4 separate regions of the Homo sapiens genome follow, and all the other regions are linked to region 1. The links are contacts of gene promoters, found by promoter capture Hi-C in human tissues and cell types (Jung and others, 2019). All regions are on one chromosome and are shown on one strand. Each heading gives the region's core, a stretch centred on a gene start or on the middle of the fragment in contact. The rest is flanking DNA. Distances are from core to core; before and after follow the strand shown.

What was found. The method cuts DNA at HindIII sites, captures the fragments that hold promoters and counts their contacts. A contact is called where the count stands out against the background at its distance.
Region 2: a contact is called between a fragment that was not itself captured here and the fragment with the promoter of RPS6KA4 in region 1, in 3 of the 25 tissues and cell types used here (adrenal gland, pancreas and spleen).
Region 3: a fragment that was not itself captured here is called in contact with the fragment with the promoter of RPS6KA4 in region 1 in 5 of the 25 tissues and cell types used here (IMR-90 fibroblasts, dorsolateral prefrontal cortex, hippocampus and 2 more).
Region 4: a contact is called between a fragment that was not itself captured here and the fragment with the promoter of RPS6KA4 in region 1, in 1 of the 25 tissues and cell types used here (dorsolateral prefrontal cortex).

What each region holds. Positions count from the first base shown.
Region 1 is chr11:64,357,752-64,361,493 of GRCh38, reverse strand. RPS6KA4 (ribosomal protein S6 kinase A4) reads right to left here and starts at 2,332. Exons shown (of 17, transcript NM_003942.3): 1 at 2,204-2,332; 2 at 2,045-2,116; 3 at 1,113-1,331; 4 at 902-1,017; 5 at 253-360; 6 at 1-25. The coding sequence starts at 2,258. RefSeq lists enhancers at 937-1,046, 1,780-2,307 and a silencer at 2,057-2,546. The HindIII fragment of the contact is 21,233 bases long and covers 1-3,742 here.
Region 2 is chr11:63,932,386-63,936,127 of GRCh38, reverse strand. No RefSeq gene overlaps it. Among named protein-coding and RNA genes, the nearest start is that of NAA40, 4.7 kb to the left of the region's middle. The HindIII fragment of the contact is 5,818 bases long and covers 1-3,742 here.
Region 3 is chr11:64,706,656-64,710,397 of GRCh38, reverse strand. The region is part of intron 2 of NRXN2 (neurexin 2); the gene reads left to right. Among named protein-coding and RNA genes, the nearest start is that of NRXN2, 15 kb to the left of the region's middle. The HindIII fragment of the contact is 7,389 bases long and covers 1-3,742 here.
Region 4 is chr11:64,660,108-64,663,849 of GRCh38, reverse strand. It overlaps NRXN2 (neurexin 2), which reads left to right. Exons shown (of 23, transcript NM_015080.4): 10 at 2,711-3,097; 11 at 3,315-3,518. Among named protein-coding and RNA genes, the nearest start is that of NRXN2-AS1, 18 kb to the right of the region's middle. RefSeq lists an enhancer at 3,162-3,742. The HindIII fragment of the contact is 5,556 bases long and covers 1-3,742 here.

The sequences.
Region 1 (3,742 bases), core at 1,083-3,582:
CACAGAAGGAGAAGGTCCGCTCTTTCTGGGAGGGCAAGAGGTCCTGCTTAGATGTCGAAACCTCTCCTGTGCCCCAGTGCCCCACAAGGCCCAGAGTAAGACTCGCTCAACTTGTGAGGTTGGAGAGCTGAGCTGTGGAAACTTCTTGGAGCTATTCACTTCTGCAGCCCCAGAATGCAGGCCCAGAGCAGGAAGAGGCAGGAAGGAGAAGGATTGAATGGGGCACTGCAGGCAGAGGTGGCCTCCACTCACCTCCTCCGTCAGGAACTCCTTGCTCAGCCCGAAGTCCGTGAGGACAATGTGGCCCTCGGAGTCCAGCAGCACATTCTCCAGTTTCAGGTCTCGGTAAATGATGCCGAGCTGGTAGGAGCAAGAGGGGTGCTGAGGCTTCCTCCCCGAAACCCTCCCCAGCTCCTCCAGCTCCTGGCCCTGCTCAGGATAAGGAGACCCCCCAGAGAAAGTCATCTGCCTGTAGAGGGGGTCTCCAGGGCAGAGCCACTGAATAAGAAAGGCCATTTAAGATATAAAACAAAGAAGGAGGGCCCCGTGGATCAGGCCCCAAGGTCCCAGAGAGAGGAAAGTCTGTGTGAAGAGCTCCATTTCAAGGAGGCCTTAGGAGCCAGGCCGTGAGGTTTCCATTTGAGGAAGTTCTGTGAACGCAGCCCCGAGTTCCCTGAAAGAGGAAAGCCCCTTCGAGGAGGTGCCAGGGGAGGGGACCCCACCAGGCAACGTTGAGGCTTCCTGCAAGGGGTCCAGGGGAAGCAGCTCCAATTCCCACCCAGCTCACCACTGGCCCCCCAGGAAGCCCAGGGGGAAGCCTGAGGCTGCCCTGCGTGCAGATTCCTTCCAAGGCACAGACCCAGTTTCCATAGCAACAGCCTGCGGCCAGGTCTTCACCCACCTTGTGCAGGTGTTCCAGGGCCAGCACGATCTCACCCCCATACACGCGCACCTCAGCCTCCTTGAAGTACTGGCGCTGGTAGAGGTGGGTGAACATCTCCCCGCCGCTCACATAGTCTGGGAGGTGCAGTGGAAGTCAGGAAGCAGCCCCGTCAGGTGGCCTCGCCTGCCCCCAGCCACCCCAACCCCGTTGGGATGTGGTGTGCGCTCACCCAGGATGAGGTGCAGCTTGGCATCCGTCTGGAAAGCGTAGTGCAGCGTGACCAGGAAGGGCGCCTGGCGCACCAGCTCCAGCACCGAGCGCTCGGTGCGCGTGTGCTCTTGCGTCTTGGCGCGCTGCACCAGCGCCGCCTTGCGCAGCACCTTCATGGCGTACAGCTTCCCCGCGTCGTGCCCGCCCGCCTTCCGCACCAGGAACACCTTGCCGTAGGCTGTGGGAGCAGCGAGTGGGTGGAGGGTGGGCTGTGAGCGGGAGATTGGTGCAGGCTTGGGGGGTGGGGGCGATGCCAACCCAGGAGGGTGTGCAAATGAGGCGAAGGAGCTGGGGCAACAGGCAGGTGTGCAAAAAGCTGGCAGAGCCTTCTAAGGAAAGGGTGTGCACACCCCGGGAGGGTGCCCAGCAAAACCAGGGAAAGGATGTGCAAACCAGGCTGGGGAGCATGCATCTCCAGGGGGCCTGCTGCGAGGCATGGGGGCGGGGCATATGCAAACCTGCGAGAGATCAGATGGATGTGAAAAGATGCCAGTGCAAGGAAGGGAGGCAGAGGTGTGCACCTGGCTGGGGAAGGGATGCGCAAACCAGCGCTGGGGCATTTGCAAAATGTGGGAGGGGGATCCCATATTGGAAGAAAGGGAGGAGCTATGCAAATCACTTGAGAGGGGCGCCAGTCCCCCTCCCCAGGGTGTTGGCAAATCCAGGGGGGTATGCACGCACAGGACCGTGGAGGGAGGAGTGATGTCAATGTGGAGTGCCCTGGAAGTGGGCATGCAAACTCTGGCGAGGCAGGGCGGGGCAGGCAAGGCAGGCTGTGCCGGGAAAGGGTGGGGGGCCTGCTCAGTGGCCTGGCCCAGGCCCAAGAGTGAGCAGGCAGGAGGTCAGGGGCACCGCGCCTGGGACGCCTGCCCGGTGGATGGGGGTCCTCACCTCCCGTGCCCAGCACCTTGAGCAGCTCGAAGTTCTCCACGCTCACCTTCTCCTCGTGCCCGGTCAGGTTGGCTGTGGGCACAGGGGGCGAATGAGCCCAGCCGGTCCATGACCCGTCCCGGCCTGCCCCGGGCAGCCGCAGTCAGGCCCCACACCCACCTTCTGTGATCCGCAGCTCCACGGCGCAGCTCTCATCGTCGTCCTCGTCCCCCATGGCGGGCGGGTCGCTGGGGCCCGCGCGGCTCGGGCTCCGGGCGGCGCCGGTTACATGGCGGCTCCGGCCGGGGCGGGCGCTTCCTGGTGCCGCCTCCGGGGCCGAGGCGGGCGCCGGCACCGCCTCCCGGCTCCCCGCCCTGCGCGGCCTGAGTCAGGCGGCTGGAACGTGACAGCGCCGGGCTGCCGGTGGGCGGCCGGCTGGGGCCGCCCTGTCTCCCGAGCCCCCAGGCCAGGCCTCAGGGCCGTGCGCTCCGGGACCTTACTCGACTCTCCCGGGAACTGGAAACACCCCGTGGGAGCCATCCCTGAGCCCGTGGGTAACCTGGAGCCTCTGGGGCATTAGTCCCCAAGCCAGGAATCTGCCCGGGAATGCCGGCTGCAGCCAGTGGCTGGAGGACATTAGGAGTCTGTGCCCCAAGGTGGGGGACGAGGTGCCTGGTGCTGGGCAGGCTGAGAGGGGGTCTGGATCCTGGAAGTCACCCAACTCTCAGGCAGTGGAGCCCACCCCACTCCATCGTCCTGGGGGTGGCCAGCAGGGCCCCTCTCCCCAGAGGACTGGCCTTTGCAAGGAGGAGCCTCATCACCAAGAGGGGGCTGGAGCCCGGCCTGGGACCCCATGGCAAGGAGAGGAGTGGCCAGTTTTCTGACCAGCTTTCTGTCGGGGGTGCCTGCAGAAGCACTTCAGCCCCCAGTCACCGTGCAGAGCCCACCAGGTGCCATGCGCACCTCACGTGTTCTGCTCCTGTTGTCTCCTAGCCTGGTGCAGTACCCAGCTTAGAGCCCTGAGCAGGCCTCAAGAAGAGATGTCAGTGCCACACGGGGCTGCCCCCTCTCCCCATGAGGCCCAGGGCCCCTGCTGACTGGTCCTCCTGAGCCCCTGCTCCGTCTTCTTCCTGCCTTTCCCTTCCTGACCACCAATGGGGCCACCTAGCAGAGTGGGACAGCCATGAGGCCCCACACCCTGAGGCCGGTGGGAGGGGCTCTCAGCTCCTCTGCCAGCTGGAGAGGCCAGGGTGTCCACCCCACGCCCCTGTCCTGTGAAGCCCTGGCTGAGAGGAGGAGGAACTCAAGCTGCTGCAGGTCACACCTGGGAGGCCGGACGGACCGTCCCTCCCAGCTCTGCACCCCCCAAGTTCAGGCTGCCTTATCTCAGCCCTGGGCAGCTCCACCCTCCCCTGGGTGGCCCCAGGTACCCTGACTCACATCCTGCACCCCAGCCGAATTGCCCCGCCTCTCAGGCATCAGGCTAGAGGCCCTGGTCAGAGAGCCAGCGTCCCTCCCACCTCTCCTGGCAACCCCTGGCATTAAGTGATGCCCCGCCAGGCTGAGAACTCCCTGGGGAGGGGGCTCAACCTCAAGGAGGGAGGGGAGATGAGTAGGAGGAGGATGTGAACAGAGAGAAGACAGTGCCCTGGGAGAGGGTGGGGGCGGGGCAACAGGGGCTTCACTGCCCCACACCCCTGAGCCCAGATCTTAGACCCC
Region 2 (3,742 bases), core at 352-2,851, 420 kb after region 1:
AGGTGAGGGAGCAAGTAATGAGGACGTCTGGGGAAAGGGCATTGCAGGCAGAGGAGGTCCTAGAACCACCCTGGCTTCTGGGTTGAGATGAGAATGTAGGGACAAGGTCAAAGGAAGGACAGTCCAGGCTGGGCAAGGTGGTGGCTCATGCCTGTAATCCCTGCACTTTGGGAGGCTGAGACAGGCAGATCACTTGAGGTCAGGAGTTTGAGACCAGCCTGGCCAACATAGTGAAACCCCATCTCCACTAAAAATACAAAAACTAGCCAGGCGTGATGGCAGGTGCCTATAATCCCAGCTACTCGAGAGGCTGAGGCAGGAGAATTGCTTGAACATGGGAGGCGAAGTTTGCAGTGAGCCGAGATCAGGCCACTGCACTCCAGTCTGGGCGACAGAGCAAGACTCTGTCTCAAAAAAAAAAAAAAAAAAAAAAAGAAGGACAGTGTCCAGAGGCCACTGCTATAATCAAGGCAACAGATGAAGCCTCCACGGTTGAGCAGCGGCAGAGGTGGGAGAAGGGCATTGAAGGTAGAGCCTACAGGACTTGCAGATTTGGTGTGGGGTGTGAGGGAAGGATCAGAGCCAAGCTACTTAGCCTGAGCTGCTAGAAAAATGGAGTGGCTTCAATTGAGATGTGGATGACTTTGAAAGGAGCTGGCTTGAGTATAGGGAAGATCAGGATTCTGTTTTGGCCACATCAGGTCTGAGTGCTTTTTAGACGTTCTGGTGGAGACGTGGGGTAGTCAGAGTTGAACTCAGGAGAGGGGTCCACGCTGGAGATAACAATTTCAGCACAGTCGGTGAATAGATAATATTTAAAGCTGTGAGACTGGCCGGGCATGGTGGCTCACGCCTGTAATCCCAACACTTAGGGAGGCTGAGGCAGACAGATCGTTTGAGGTCAGGAGTTTGAAACCAGTCTGACCAACATGGTAAAACCCCGTCTCTACTAAAGTACAAAAAAACCTTAGCTGGCCATGGTGGCAGGCACCTGTAATCTCAGCTACTCGGGAGACTGAGGCAGAAGAATCGCTTGAACCCAGGAGGCGGAGGTTGCAGTGAGCTGAGACTGCGCCACTGCACTTCAGCCTGGGTAACAGAACGAGACTCCCTCTCAATAATAATAATAATAATAAAATAAATAGAAAAGACAAAATCAAATTTGATTTTTTAAAATAAATAAATTAATAAAACTGTGAGACTGAGGCCGAGTGTGGTGGCTCACGCCTGTAATCCCAGCACTTTGGGAGGCTGAGGTAGACGGGTCCCTTGAGCTCAGGAGCTCAAGACCAGCTTGTGCAACATAGCGAGACCCTGTCTCTACCACAAAAAGAAAAAAAAAAGCTGTGAGACTGGATGAGGCCGTGGAGGGAATGCAGTTAGACTGGAATGAGTGAATCTTTGGCCTGACAGCCCTATTGTGTGGTCAGGAAATTTGTTGTGGTTGCCAGCCCTCTAGGGACCAGGAGAGGGAGCTGAGAGTGGGAGGAGGGTAGCCAGCTGGGAAGAAGGGATATCCAAGCTTATCTTTGAAGAAGGAAGAGGAGGCAAGGAAATTTCTTTTTTTTTTTTTTTTTTTGAGACAGAGTCTCGCTCTGTCGCCAGGCTGGAGTGCAGTGCAGTGGCACAATCTTGGCTCACTGCAACCTCCGTCTCCTGGGTTCAAGCAATTCTCTGCCTCAGCCTTCCCAGTAGCTGGGATTACAGGCACCCGCCACCATGCCTGGCTAATGTTTTTGTATTTTTAGTAGAGACAGGGTTTCACCATCTTGGCCAGGCTGGTATTGAACTCCTGATCTCGTGATCCACCCGCCTCAGCCTCCCAAAGTGCTGGGATTACAGGCATGAGCCACCACGCCCGGCCTAGAAATTTCTTTTCTTGTCTTGTCTTTTTTGAGACGGAGTCTCGCTCTGATGCCCAGGCTGGAGTGCAGTGGTGCAATATCGGCTCACTGCAACCTCCCCTCCCGGGTTCAGCGATTATCCTGCCTCAGCCTCCTGAGTAGCTGGGACTATAGGCATGTGCCACTGTGTCTGGCTAATTTTTGTATCTTTAGTAGAGACAGGGTTTCACCATATTGGTCAGGCTGGTCTCGAACTCCTGACCTCATGATCCACCCACCACAGCCTCCCAAAGTGTTGGGATTACAGGCGTGAGCCACCGCACCCAGCCTAGGCAAGGAAATTTCAACTGACAGAAAAGGATTTGCAGAGCCAGGGCGGTGTGAGGGAGTGGATAAGGTGAGGGATGAGACTCCACCCCCACCTCGGCACAGTCCCCACTGTGTTTTGGTTTTTCTGGTCTCCTTACCTACAGGGAACTTCATGGTCAGCTGTTTCAGTGCACAGATGACTGCCACCACCATCCCCTGTGCCCTGTCCCTTCTGCCATGCCCCACTCTTGGGTTTGCTCCCTGCTCCCCCAGCCTGCTGGAATTTGCTGGAAACCAGGCAAGGCCTGGGAGGTGAGCCCAGTAGTCCTTGGGGGAGGTGACATCATCCAGGCCACCCAAGAGGCCCGAAAAGGCCCAGTGCCCTATTTCTGCCCCAAGGCAGCATCCTTCTGTCTGAGGCCTGCCCTGATTATGGGCCATCTCTCCTGCTCAGGGCTTCCTTGTTCTTGTGGGGTGGTGGACAGAGCCTGCTCTGGAGTTGGACCAACCTGTGTTTAAATCTCCTTTCTGCTACTTGTTGGCCTTGTGACTTTAGGCAAGCTGCCTACTATCTCTGAGACTCAGTTTCCTTATTTGTAAAGTGAGACCACCAGTAGCAATCATCTTCATCTTCAGTAAAATCTTCTTCTAGGGGTGGTTGTGAGAATTAAATAAGATGGGATGGATGGCAAGGCCTGGGGCAGGAATGGAACCCCATACACCCATACAAAAGTATATCAAAGTGGCCAGACGCGGTGGCTCACACCTGTAATCCCAGCACTTTGGGAGGCTGAGGAAGGTGGATTGCCTGAGGCCAGGAGTTTGAGACCAGCCTGGGCAACATGGTGAAACCCCGTCTCTACCAAAAGTATAAAAGTTAGGCCAGGCGCAGTGGCTCATGCCCGTAATCTCAGCACTTTGGGACGCCGAGGCTGGTGGATCACAAGGGTGGATTCGAGACTAGCCTGGCCAATATGGTGAAATCCCATCTCTACTAAAAATACAAAAAGTAGCTGGGCCTGGTGGCAGGTGCCTATAGTCCCAGCTACTCAGGAGGCTGAAGCAGGAGAATCGCTTGAACCCAAAAGGCAGAGGTTGCAGTGGGCCAAGATTGAGCCACTGCACTCCAGCCTGGGCAATAGAGGGAGACTCCATCTCAAAAAAAAAAAAAAAAAAGGGTGAAACCCCGTCTCTACTAAAAATACAAAAATTAGCCCGGCCTGGTGGCGGGCGCCTGTAATCCCGGCTACTCAGGAGGCTGAGGCAGAGAATTGCTTGAACCTGGGAGACAGAGGTTGCAGTGAGCAGAGATCGCACCACCGCACTCCAGCCTGGGCAACAAAGCGAGACTCCATCTAAAAAAAAAAAAAAATTAGCCAGACGTAGTGACGCACACCTGTAGTCCCAGCTACCTGGGAGGCTGAGGCAGGAGAATCGCTTGAACCCTACAGGCGGAGGTTGCAGTGAGCCGATATTGCACCACCGCACTCCAGCCTGGGCAATAGAGCAAGACTCTATCTCAAAAAAAAAAAAAAAGTATGTGTCCCCTTCTCCCCTCCCTGGCATCGCATCCCTCCCGCCGCACCCAC
Region 3 (3,742 bases), core at 443-2,942, 350 kb before region 1:
GTGTCTAAGATGTGTTTGAGTAACTGTGTGAGAGGGATGGCTGTGTGTATAATATGGCTTGGTATCAGATGAATGTTTGTGTCAGCTGTGGTGAAGCTGTGAGAGATGGTTGAATATATGTATCTGACCCATTGTGTGTGTGTGTGTCTGTGTGTGTGTGAGAGAGAGTCATGTAAGAAAAAGAAACGTGAGCCAGGTGCAGTGGCTCACGCCTGTAATCCCAGCACTTTGGGAGGCTGAAGCGGGCAGATTACTTGAGGTCGGGAGTTCGAGACCAGCCTGGCCAACATGGTAAAACCCCGTCTCTACTAAAAATACAAAAATCAGCCAGGCATGGTGGCGGGCACTTGTAATCCCCACTGCTTGGGAAGCTGAGGCAGGAGAATTGCTTGAACCTGGGAGGTGTAGGTTGCAGTGAGCTGAGATGGCACCACTGCACTCCAGCCTGGGTGACAAAGTGAGACTCCATCTCAAAAAAAAAAAAAAAAAGGAAGAAGAAAAGGGAAAGTGAGATATAAGGCGGGCGCCAGCTGGTAGGGGCAGGGTTGCTTGTGTATATGTGGAGTGTGTGTGATGTGTGTGTGGTATCTGTTGAGAGAGCAGTGCTTTGTGGTAAAGGGGGAGGGTTGTGTCTTTATTCATTTCTGTATTCCCAGCACCTAATCTGGTACCAGGCACTTAGTGGGTGTTTGATAAAGATTTGTGGAATGAATGGAGAGATATTAATAAGTAATTGAGAGAATAAAGGCTTGAGGCAAAGCTGTATGTACATATGAAAACATGTATGTATATATTTTCAGATATATGTTGTGGGTGGGCATGGGGGTTGTAGGCACTGATTGCATCTGGAGATGACAGGCACAGCAATAACCCTACTGATTCCCTTCTTTTCTCTCCCCACTCTGCAACCTCATTTCTTCTTCTATTTGTTCCTTATTTCCTAGGTAGCTTTTATAATATCTTGTGCTCATTATACTTCGAGTACTTTCTCATCCAGTCAAGGAGGAAAGGCATGGGCTCCCATGGTTGGGTATTGGGGTGAGGAAGGAAGACTTTAAGGGGAGCAGGCCTGGCTCCTGCTCTCTGACACAACTCTAGGGGTCAGAATCCCCAGGCTTCCTTGGAGTTATAATCACTTTATCATCTGTTGTGAATGGTTCCCAACTCTTTCTGAGACTGAGGACTTTTTTTTTTTTTTTTTTTTTTTGAGATGGAGTCTCGCTCTGTGCCTAGGCTGGAGTGCGATGGCACGATCTCAGCTCACTGCAATCTCCACCTCCTGGGCTCAAGCGATTCTCCTGCCTCAGCCTCCTGAGTAGCTGGGATTACAGGCGCCCGCCACTATGTCCAGCTAATTTTTGTATTTTTAGTAGAGACGGGTTTTCACCATGTTGGTCAGGCTGGTCTCGAACTCCCGGCCTCAAGTGATCCGCCCGCATTGGCCTCTCAAAGTGCTGGGATTACAGGTGTGAGCCACTGCGCCTGGCCAACTGAGGACATTTTTAAAAGTCAGTAATTCACAGTACCCCTTCCAGTTATTATTTTTATATCTGTTTAGTGTGAGTATAAATGACTCAAAGCCACTGTGAATTTGGAAAAGCTTTTAGATGACTTTGATATTATATTTGCCATTGTGGTTAATAAAATATACATTAGAAAAATGGTTTTAGCTTTATATGCAAGATGTTTCAATCTGCCTTCAGATGTTTGGTGTGCATACGAATTTGTGTATCCTTTGGAATCCCTCCTGCTCTCCCAGGGTCTGGGCTTACTCATTGACGGAGAACCTCCATGCTAGGAAATTTGCATTTTCTCTCTCTCTCTCAGAGATCTGGCCACACGTAATTGAAGACAGAGCTCAGTGGGAGTGGCTGAGTCTGTCTACCGTTGCTGATTATCTGCCAAAGCTGGGATAGAGTAGACTGGGATCTTGCAGTGGTTTGCATGACAGTGCTTCCTCATGTCACCTGTGTGTGTGGAGAAGGGGCTAAAAAGGGATTAAAGAAGAAGGGATGTGCAGGCATGTGTGTGAGACCTCAGGTGGAGTGATGATGCAGGTGTTCAGGACAGAGTGTCAGGTGTATACTATTTGCTCAGGAGAAAAATAGGAAACTAGTCGTAATGTGTGTGCTTGCAGGGAGGTAGACACACGTGTCTCATGTGTTTTGTGATAGTGATTTAATTCAACAGGTAGTTGCCAAGGCCTCTTTTGTGCTAGGCTGTGTGTTGGGGGCTACAGTGTGGTCAGAGATGAATAAGATGACTCTGTGCTCTGGGAGTTGACTTTTTTTTTTTTTTTGAGACGGAGTTTCGCTCCTGTTGCCCAGGCTGGAGTGCAATGGCACAATCTTGGCTCACCACAACCTCTGCCTTCCGGGTTCAAGCAAAGTGATTCTCCTGCCTCAGCCTCCATAGTAGCTGGGATTATAGGCATGCACCACCACGCCTGGCTAATTTTGTATTTTTAGTAGAGATGGGGTTTCTCCATGTTGGTCAGGCTGGTCTTGAACTCCTGACCTCAGGTGATCCGCCTGCCTTGGCCTCCCAAAGTGTTGGGATTACAGGTGTAAGCCACCACACCCAGTCTGGGAGTTGACTATTAAATTGAGGAAGCAGATAAAAAAGCTGTCCAGTGTGTTGTTAAGAGATTCTGCCTCCAGACTGCCCAGGCAGTGACTTTATACTTAAACTCTCTTTGCCCCCATTTCCTTATCTATAAATGAAGATAATAATGGTACCTACTTTATAGAGTTGTTGTGAAAATTAAATTAGCTAGTTCATGTAAAGTGCTTAGAACAGTGCCTGGTACATAGAAAATGCTCAATACATAGTAGCAAAAAAACAGCACAATAGTGTGTGGCCCAGAGATGCAGTAAAGCAGTGTGGCTTAGTGATTAAACCACAGACTTCTGTGGCTCTGGTCTGGGTTTAAATCTGTCTTCTCTACTCCCTAGGCCCATGACATTAGGTGAGTACCTAACCTTTAGACTCATTTTTCTTTTTTTTTTTTTTTGAGACGGAGTCTCGCTGTCTCCAAGGCTGGAGTACAGTGGCGTGATCTTGCCTCACTGCAAGCTCTGCCTCCCGGGTTCACGCCATTCTCCTGCCTCGTCCTCCTGAGTAGCTGGGACTACAGGCGCCCGCCACCACACCTGGCTAATGTATTTTTAGTAGAGACGGGGTTTCACCATGTTAGCCAGGATGGTCTCGATCTCCTGACCTCGTGATCCACCCACCTCATGATCCGCCCACCTTGGCCTCCCAAAGTGCTGGGATTACAGGTGTGAGCCACCGCACCTGACCCATTTTTCTTTATGTATAAAATGGTGATACATGGCTGGGCACTTGAACCCAGGAGGTGGAGGTCGCAGTGAGCTGAGATCGCGCCACTGCACTCCAACCTGGCTGACACAGCAAGACTCTGTCTCAAAAAAAAAAAAAAAAATGGGGATACACATGCTTATCTCATAGGTTTGTTGTAAGAATTAAATTAGCATCTGCTGTATAAAATTAGTGATGAGTAAATGGTAGTTACTCTTACAAGCAAAGTGCAGGGGAGAGTTTCCAAGTTGAGGGGATCAGTAATAGGTTTATGAAAGGCATGCTGTTTACAATTGGCCTCGAACATTGATTAATAAACTTGGTTGGGGGAAGTCGTTTGAAGCAAAGGAGCTGATATGAGCAAAGGCATGGACACAGGGAAATGTACATCATATCTGTAGAGGGCACCAAGGGGTATAGG
Region 4 (3,742 bases), core at 661-3,160, 300 kb before region 1:
ATATTCCATTGCCTGGATATACACGTTGCATTTATCCATCTATCTGTTGGTGGATGCTTGGGTTGTTCTTTTCCATGTGTTGAGTGATCTTGGTGTAGAGGCCTGTACTCACTATGGCTTCCTCTTGTTGACCCTCCATTATACACCCCTTCCCCATCTCTTTCCTTCTCTCTCTCTTCCTTCTCCAACATTTGGTTCATTTGTAGAGAGTCTGGTTGAGTCGTGTAAAGCCCAGGAGGTCCTGCAGTGGGTGGGCAGAGCAGGCATGGGGGAATCTGGCTATAAATAGAGGTGTGGGTAATCAGGCAGGCCATGTTTGGTGGCCTGTTAGGGGAGTGGGCCCCCAGCCCTGGGAAGTGGGTTTAGAGTCAGGACCATGGGTCATCTGACACCTTGTATGGAGAGAAAAGCTAGGGACCATGTTACTAAAAGAGGGCACAGCTCTGGTTCAGGTGAGGTTTTTTTTTTTTTTTTGAGTCAGAGTTTTGCTCTTGTCGCCCAGGCTGCCAGGCTGGAGTGTAGTGGCATGATCTCAGCTCACTGCAACCTCTGCCTCCCAGGTTTAAGCGATTCTTTTGCCTCAGCCTCTTGAGTAGCTGGGATTGCAGATGCCCACCATGCCCGGCTAATTTTTGTATTTTTAGTAGAGATGGGGTTTCACCATGTTGGCCAGGCTGGTCTCAAACTCCTGACCTCAGGCGATCCTCCTGCCTCAGCCTCCCAAAGTGCTGGGATTACACGTGTGAGCCATTGCGCCCGGCCTCAGGTGAGGTTTTGAGCAGAGAGGAACACGTCCTGAATGAGGGGATGTGTCTGTAGAGGAGGTCCCAGTTCTTCCCTCTTGGGTTCCCACCCTGTGCTCACATTGATTCTCCTCCCAAAGCTCCCTGCCAAATTCAGGCCTCATGCAGACCCAAACCCTCCTTAACCTCTCTTTAACCCCATGAAGTTAGGCAGAGTCTTTTTTTTTTCTAACTAGGATGTCTGCAATGGGGTCTTGCGTGAGGAGAGAGATTGAACTCAACTCCCACCCTGACCCCTTTTATTTATTTATTTATTTTTTTTTTTGAGACAGAATCTCGCTCTGTCGCCCAGACTGGAGTGCAGTGGCACGATCTTGGCTCACTGCAAGCTCTGCCTCCCGGGTTCACACCATTCTCCTGCCTTAGCCTCCTGAGTATCTGGGACTACAGGCGCCCGCCACCACGCCCAGCTAATTTTTTGTCTTTGTTAGTAGAGACAGGGTTTCACCGTGTTAGCCAGGATGGTCTCGATCTCCTGACCTTGTGATCCACCCGCCTCGGCCTCCCAAAGTGCTGGGATTACAGGCGTGGGCCACTGTGCCCGGCCCCGACCCCTTTTAAACAGTTCTTCCAAACTTGAAAAAGGACAGAGGAAGGAATTTAAAAATACAAGTAGAATAAAATTTCTAAGGTATAGGTTTCTGCAGCTTAAGGTCTCAGTAAAGGCTATGGAACTCCTACCAGATCCCAAGTCTTTTTTCTAAGATAATCACCTCCTCCTCCTTCCTCCTCCTCCTCCTCTTCCTTTTCTTCTTCTCCTTCTTCTCCCTTCTTCTCTTCTTCTTTTTTGAGATGGAGTCTCGCTGTGTCTCCCAGGCTGGAGTGCAGTGGCATGATCTTGGCTCACTGCAGCCTCTGCCTCCCGGGTTCAAGTGATTCTCCTGCCTTAGTCTCCCGAGTAGCTGGGACTACAGGTTTGTGCCAACACACCCGGCTAATTTTTTTTTTTTTTTTTTAGTAGAGATGGAGTTTCACCATGTTGGCCAGACTGGTCTTGAACTCCTGACCTCAAGTGATCCATCCGCCTCGGCCTCCCAAAGTGCTGGGATTACAGGCGTGAACCACCATGCCCGGCCAAGCACCCTCTACTTCTGAAGAACTCTTCTACCTAAAAATTCTGTGCCTACCTCCTTTCTCCTCACTGCTGTCCTGCCCCGCAGGCCCTGGAGCCAATCTGCTTGTGCACCTTGCTGGCCGCAGAGTGGGCTCTTGGCTGAGGGGTGGAGAGTGCAGGCTCTGAGTTCTTGCTGCTGGGACCATACTTTGGCTGTGTTCCTTCCCCACTGTGGCGCTTTGGCACTGTTCCCCAGTCTCTGCAAGCCTCGTCTACCATTTCAAAATGGGATCATAAAGGACTGATTTCGTAGAGTTATTATGAGACTTAAGTGATATAATATATTTAAAGTGCTAGGTGCCTGGCATCTAGTCATAAAAGCTCAATAAATGTTTGTGGGGGGAAAAAACTCCTTTGGATTAAAGATCTTTCAGCCCCTTCTGTTCCTTGAGGTTCTCTGCTTCCGGTTCCCAGTCTAAGGAACTGGCTGGCAGGAATGACCCAGTGAATGATCCAACCCTTTCCGAGCTCAAGATTTCGGCATGCCCACTTCCTGCCTATCCTCTGAGGACTTGCTGAGGTGGGGAGGAGGGGTATGGACAGAGGCCCACAGCATTCTGCAGCTGGGCTGGGGCTGCGTCACAGAAGCCTCTGAGCCTGGGGGCCTTTGTCAAGCAGTTTTTGCAGTGAGTGAGGCCGAGCTTCCAGCCCAGGACTGCTGCTCGTCCTCCTGAGCCTGCTGCAGGGCACAAGGTGGAGGGGCCCACACAAGGTGGGGGGCCTTCTTGGCAGAGTCAGGATGTCCCTTTCTGGCCTGTGGCTTTTCTCCATCCTGCCTTCCCTTGATTCCCAGGCTCCATCTCAGTGAATAGTCGCAGCACGCCGTTCTTGGCCACTGGAGACAGCGAGATTCTGGACCTGGAGAGTGAGCTGTACCTGGGCGGTCTCCCTGAGGGGGGCCGGGTGGACCTGCCCCTGCCCCCAGAGGTGTGGACAGCAGCACTCCGGGCAGGCTACGTGGGCTGTGTGCGGGACCTCTTCATAGATGGGCGTAGCCGAGACCTCCGGGGCCTGGCTGAGGCTCAGGGGGCTGTGGGCGTTGCCCCCTTTTGCTCCCGGGAGACGCTGAAGCAGTGTGCATCTGCCCCCTGTCGCAATGGGGGCGTCTGTCGAGAAGGCTGGAACCGCTTCATCTGTGACTGCATCGGGACCGGCTTTCTTGGGCGGGTCTGTGAGAGAGGTGAGGCTGGTCTTCATCCTAGGTGTCCCTGCTCCCTATCCCTGTGCTCCTCCTTCTCAGGGTGACTCCTACTTTCCATCCCTGTGCCACCTCCTCCTAGGGGAACCCCTCATAGACCTGCCCTAGGCTTTTCGCCCTTGTAATGATTCTCTGGTCTTCTCCCTCCCCTGGCCTCTGCCTGTCTTCTCCTTCCCTCTTCCCCAACTCCTGTGGGCAGAGGCCACGGTCCTGAGCTACGATGGCTCCATGTACATGAAGATCATGCTGCCTAACGCCATGCACACGGAGGCAGAGGATGTGTCCCTGCGTTTCATGTCCCAGCGGGCCTACGGACTCATGATGGCCACCACTTCCAGGGAGTCTGCCGACACCCTACGCCTGGAGCTGGATGGGGGGCAGATGAAGCTCACTGTCAACCTCGGTAACCACCCTGCCCTGTGCTTCCTGACCCCTCACCTGGCCTTGTCTCTGACCCACACCTGCCTCTGTCTGGAGAAGCTGGTGGTGGCACCAGCAAGAGGTGCCCTCAGCAGAGTTTGGAGGTGGGGAGGCGCCAGCCTGGGTCAGAGACCCTGAGAGCTCTGTCCCTGGTGAGGACGCACAGTGTAGGGCGACATTCCATGCTCGACGACACTGTGAGGGGCA